Linked DNA regions of Homo sapiens: region 1 is linked to region 2. Evidence: promoter capture Hi-C in human tissues and cell types (Jung and others, 2019). All regions are on one chromosome and are shown on one strand. The core of a region is centred on a gene start or on the middle of the fragment in contact, and the rest is flanking DNA. Distances in the headings are between cores, read along the strand shown. Region 1 overlaps ATP6V1H (ATPase H+ transporting V1 subunit H). Region 2 holds the start of LYPLA1 (lysophospholipase 1).

Region 1 (2,700 bases), core at 182-2,681, 360 kb after region 2:
CATGAGATGAAAAATATGAACATTTAGCACAGTGCCCAACGTGGGGGAAAGTGCTCACATTTGATATTACTGTAAGTGGTGTGTGAGCTGTATGTTTTTAATCAGTCCTATTTTGCTCACAACATGGCAGTTTTCTGAGATTGTATTTGGTCCTCATTATTCACAGGTTCCAGAATTGTGAATTTGCCCACCTACTAAAAAGTTTATTTTCAACAGCTGTGTCAATACTAGAGGCGCTTTTGTAGTTATCCATGGACATGTGTAGAGTGGTGAATAATTGGAGTCGCTAATGGACACATCCCCAGCTGTGGGGGAACAAGGCAGCGTTCTGCCATCCCATGTTGTCTCTTACGCTAGAAACAAGCGTCCTTTACGTGGTCTGTTTAGTACCATATTTTTTTTTTTTTGCATTTTTGTGGGGTTTTTGTGTGTGTGTGTGTGGTGATTTTCCTGTTTAAAATGGCCCCCAAACCTTCTGGAGTGCTGTGTAATGTTCCTAAGCACAAGAAGGGGCTGTTACGTGCCTATGGAGAAAACTCGTGTGTTAGAGAAGGTTCCTTCAGCCAGGAGCTATGGTGCTGTTGGCTGCTAGCTCAGGCCTCAGAGGCAGTCTAGAGAACAAGCAGCCTGTGACCGTGCTCTGTGAAGCTCAGTGGGGCTCCAAAGCTGACTGTGAAAGGACCTTGTCAGCTATTTTAAGGATTTGGGTCCTTTGTTTTATTTTTATTTGTTTTTTTTTAAGAAACAGGGTCTTACCCTGTTGCTCCAGCTGGAGTGCAGTGGTGCAATCATAGCTCACTGTAACCTTGAACTGGGCTCAAGCAATCTTCCCACCTCAGCCTCTCAAGTAGCTGGTTCTACAGGTACACACCACCATGCCTGGCTAATTTTTTATTTTAATTTTTTTGTGGGGACAGTATCTCATTGTGTTGTCCAGGCTAGTCTCGAACTCCTGGGCTCAAGCAGTTGTCCCAGCTTGGTCTCTCAAAGTGCTGGGATTACAGGCATGAGCCACTGTGCCTGGCCTGGGTCCTTTTGTTAAGACAAGTAGAAGCCACTGAATTGTTTTAAGTAGTAAAAATCATATGCAGAGTTTTGCCAAGATTCCTTTGACTACAGTGAGAATGGGAGGCGGGAGAGCAGCCTGTATCATCATCGCTGCACAGCTGGGCTTAGTGTCCTGCAGGGACATAGGCTTTATGTCCTTTAATCATCACAGCAACGCTGTGAAGATGTCCTTGTCTTCCCTATTTGTCAGGGAGGAATTTACCAGGTAAAGGACTTGTCTAATTAACATGTTTGATAAATGGCTGAGCTGATATATTAGATAATGTTTTAAAGTACAGTGCCTGGCCTGCAGTAAGCACTCAGTTAATGTTTGATGATAGTTACATTATGTTCTTTTTTTTCCCCTCAGTTCAGTGCATTTTTTTTAAAACCATGCTTTAAAGAATAAAATATGAAAAGGTATGCAGATAAAAGCTTCCCTCTCACTCCGACCCCCATCTACTTATTTCTTCCTGACCCCAGAAACATTACTGATCTGTGAGATTGTCTTAAACCACCAAACACTGTACTGCATTAAGGTGCCGCTTGTCACTGACTATATTGTAGGTATCCTCCACTAGACAGGACTGGTGGCTGAAGAATGGACAGGGCAGTCCACACTGTTGTGTGGAAGCTGAGACTCCACAGCTCTGTCTGTAACCACACCTTTGCAAAGAAACAGAGGACCAATTTCTATGCATGAAGAAATAGCCATTTTTACTTTCCTTTGTGTTTGTAATAAGTGGATTTTCAGGATGTCGGAAGTGTGGTGATAGAAAGCAGTGTCGGTTGTCAGTCATCTCGGTGGTCTCGAAGATATGAATGTTCTCCTTCGTCTCACTGCCCAAGTCACATGGCATATCCCATTGTTATTACAAAGGGGTGGATATCTTAAAATCAGTAGTCTTTTCCAGGAAATTAGCATGGGTGCTCTTTAACCCCCTGTTCCCTGCTATCTACATCTAAGCCCCTATCTTCACGCAGCACGGTCACTGGTGGGCTTGATATTGATTGTATGTTGTTATGAAAATTAGATGGTGTTCAATACTGATATTAAACAAGCAAGAAATACTGATAATAAAAACGTTAATACTCAGCCACTTAGAAAACAATGATCTAAAATACTAGTGCCTGGGTGGTATCTAGGCAGATCATATGTTTCTGGATTAGAGATGAGAAATGAGAACAACTGTTGGATTTATCATTAGGAATTCAAAAACGAAAGTATTTGAATACTGTAAATCTATGGTTCAGGGAAAATGATGTAAAAAAAGACACGTTTGGTTTATTTACGTACATTGTTACTTTCCTTTTTAGCGTGTTGGTATTTGAGCTGCCTGCTTACAAACTGTGAATTTGAGAGTAATTGCATCTTCCTCACCACGTCTCTCCCGTTTGCAGGGTCATCGAGCAGCTCGGTGGGAAGCAGCTGGTCATGAACCACATGCATCATGAAGACCAGCAGGTCCGCTATAATGCTCTGCTGGCCGTGCAGAAGCTCATGGTGCACAACTGGTATGCCACGGCTTTTTGCTCACACTTGTACATTAGTCTGCAAACTCTCACTTGCCATTCTAAAAGTTCTTATGCAAATGCTTTGAATGATCATTTTTAAAATTAGTTATTTTGATTCAAAATTTAGAAATATATTTT
Region 2 (2,700 bases), core at 14-2,513:
AGCTTGTCACCTTCGTGGTGAGTGTTACAGTTTTTTTTTTTTTTTTTTTTTTTTTTTGAGACAAGGTCTCTCTCTGTCTCCCAGGCTGGAGTGCAGTGACGCGATCTCAGGTCACTACAAGCTCTGCCTCTCAGGTTCACGCCATTCCCCTGCCTCAGCCTCCCAAGTAGCTTGGACTACACGACCGGCCAATTTTTTTTTTTTGTATTTTTAGTAGAGACGAGGTCTCACCGTGTTAAGGCAGGATGGTCTCGATCACCTGACCTCCTGATCCACCCGCCTCGGCCTCCCAAAGTGCTGGGAGTGTTACAGCTCTTAAAGGTCCCACAGACCCAAAGAGTGAGCAGCAGCAGCAAGATTTATTGTGAAGAGTGAAAGAACAAACTTTCCACAGTGTGGAAGGGGACCCAGGGCTGCCACTGCCAGCTAGGGGATGGGGGGCGTGGCCAGCTTTTATTTCCTTATTTGTCCCGGCCCAAGTCCTGCGGATTGGTCCACTTTACAGAACACTGATTAGCCCGTTTTACAGGGTACTGATTGGTGCATTTTACAAACCTCTAGCTAGCCACAAAGTGCTGATTGGTGCATTTTACAATCCTAGCTACAGAGTGCTGTTGGTACATTTTACAATCCTCTTGTAAGACAGAAAAGTTCTCCAAGTCCCCAACCGACCCAGAAGACCAGCTGGCTTTACCTCTCACTTAAACCTGTACTGTGTCAATATCCGTACATCAGTAAGTGTTGTCGATCAAGTTAGGGAAGTAGTGGATTTCTGGTGACAAATGTTACCCTTTCCAACTAAAGTTTAAAGAAGGTAAGTTGAACCCAAATCTACATACTGCTGTAGCCCCAAACGGAAATACTGCAAAAGCTCCATCAACGTCTCCCAGTCCATCCAGACTTTTACAAATGGATAGACCCCGGCCGCAGGAAACCAAGGAGCACCTGGGGTTGGGTTGGGTGAATTGGCTCTGGGGCTCATTCTTTTCACTACAGCGCCAGAAAAGCAAAAACCTAAACCAAGACCCAAGAGACCAGCCCTCAGCCTGCACCTGAGAGCACATTTTCCCTAGCCAGCACTGAGCATGCGCAGGCTGCGTGGTGTGGCGAAAGCGCAGCCAGGTCCGCGCTGCCGCCGCAGCCAATCGGAGGGAGGGAGCCGCCCGGACATTGTGAGGTGCCGAGGGAGGGGCGGCGGGCGAGGGGCAGGGCAGGGCGGACCCTGGACGCGCGGGCGCGCGCGGAAGGTAGCGCGGGGCCGCGTTGGCGCGCACGCGCCTGAGCGTGCGCCCGGTGGGGCCGGCCGGGACTCGCCGCTCGCACGCCCTTGGGCCGCGGCCGGGCGCCCGCTCTTCCTTCCGCTTGCGCTGTGAGCTGAGGCGGTGTATGTGCGGCAATAACATGTCAACCCCGCTGCCCGCCATCGTGCCCGCCGCCCGGAAGGCCACCGCTGCGGTGAGTGGCGTAGGCGTGGGCTCGGAGGGGTCCACTGGGCCGGCCACCGGTGGTTGCCCCTCGCGCGGGGTGGGCGTTGCGGGCGCGTGGCGGCCTGCGGACGAGGACGCTCCTCCCGGCCCGGGTGGGGTGCGAATGGTCCGCGCGGCCGGGTCCGCGGGGGGCGGGGGCAGCCGGGGGGTCACAGCCGGCGCGAGGGCCAGTCCCCAGCTCCTCCCTGCATTGCGGAGGAAGTGTGGCCCCGGGACCCCCGCGGGCCGGCCTAGGGCACGGCGTCAGCCTCTGCAGCGTGTTTCTGCCTGGTGTGTGGGTGAGGGAAACCTAAGTCCGCCAGGAAATCGCCTTATTGTCACCTCGCACTCTTATCCTCAATGAAAGAAGTTTGAAGATTGAGTGTCCTACAAGGTCAGACGTACTGTTTTTTAGAAAACTCGTGTATGAAAAGTCAAACTTATTTTTGCCTCCGGAAGCTTGCTTTTGCAGTGGAAAAATTCTACAGGATATGTGAGATGTTCCTGATTTCACTTGAAAGAGATAAACTGTTTTTCTTAGAATGTGATCATTTGCACTCAATGTCTAACTGGGACCTCTCAGTGCTACCCCCCCCCCATTCATTATCTCAGGAAATAAAGGGAGAAGTTGATCAGAATTTTTGCCATTTAAAAGAGGTCGATAAAGATTAAGTCGCCGAAGATAGTGTTGTGTAATTCTCTCGTAGGTTTCGTTCCGTTTTCCACCTTAAGCAAAGCTAGTGTGTAACAATCCTGTGTGGGCTTATTTAGGCATTGCTTATTAATTTTCCTCTTCTCTTATAGGTGATTTTCCTGCATGGATTGGGAGATACTGGGTAGGTACCATTATTATTAATAGTAACAGTAATGAAACTGGGTCATGCAACTTTTGTTTACGCGTTCAAAGGTTTAATGTTTAAGGGCGCTAAAATGGTATTTTAAGATTGCCAGTTAATGTATCTTACAGTGCGGTGATTTTATGTTTTGAAAACCCTCAGAATTTTCCCCTTATCATCGTGAGTTTATTGATTTTTTAACTCTGGTTTCTGGAACATATTAAAATTTCAAATTCCTCATTAGTTGCTTTGGGTATTGGATACCAGAGATCCGTGGAATGTTAGTAGGGACGGTGTGCAATTGAGAGCTTTCCAGAGCAGTTAAAATTTCAGAGCAGATTGAAGAGAAGAACTAGTTGATTTTGATAAGAGAACTAGTGGCAACATAAGGCATGCAG

Evidence for each region. The method cuts DNA at HindIII sites, captures the fragments that hold promoters and counts their contacts. A contact is called where the count stands out against the background at its distance.
Region 1: a fragment that was not itself captured here is called in contact with the fragment with the promoter of LYPLA1 in region 2 in 1 of the 25 tissues and cell types used here (heart left ventricle).

What each region holds. Positions count from the first base shown.
Region 1 is chr8:53,743,439-53,746,138 of GRCh38, reverse strand. ATP6V1H (ATPase H+ transporting V1 subunit H) reads left to right here. Exons shown (of 14, transcript NM_015941.4): 13 at 2,449-2,562. Among named protein-coding and RNA genes, the nearest start is that of ATP6V1H, 98 kb to the left of the region's middle. The HindIII fragment of the contact is 3,769 bases long and covers 1-2,700 here.
Region 2 is chr8:54,100,510-54,103,209 of GRCh38, reverse strand. It overlaps LYPLA1 (lysophospholipase 1), which reads left to right and starts at 1,263. Exons shown (of 9, transcript NM_006330.4): 1 at 1,263-1,455; 2 at 2,271-2,302. The coding sequence starts at 1,387. LYPLA1-TCEA1 (LYPLA1-TCEA1 readthrough) reads left to right here and starts at 1,263. Exons shown (of 21, transcript NM_001425842.1): 1 at 1,263-1,455; 2 at 2,271-2,302. RefSeq lists a silencer at 1,140-1,709. The HindIII fragment of the contact is 3,514 bases long and covers 1-2,488 here.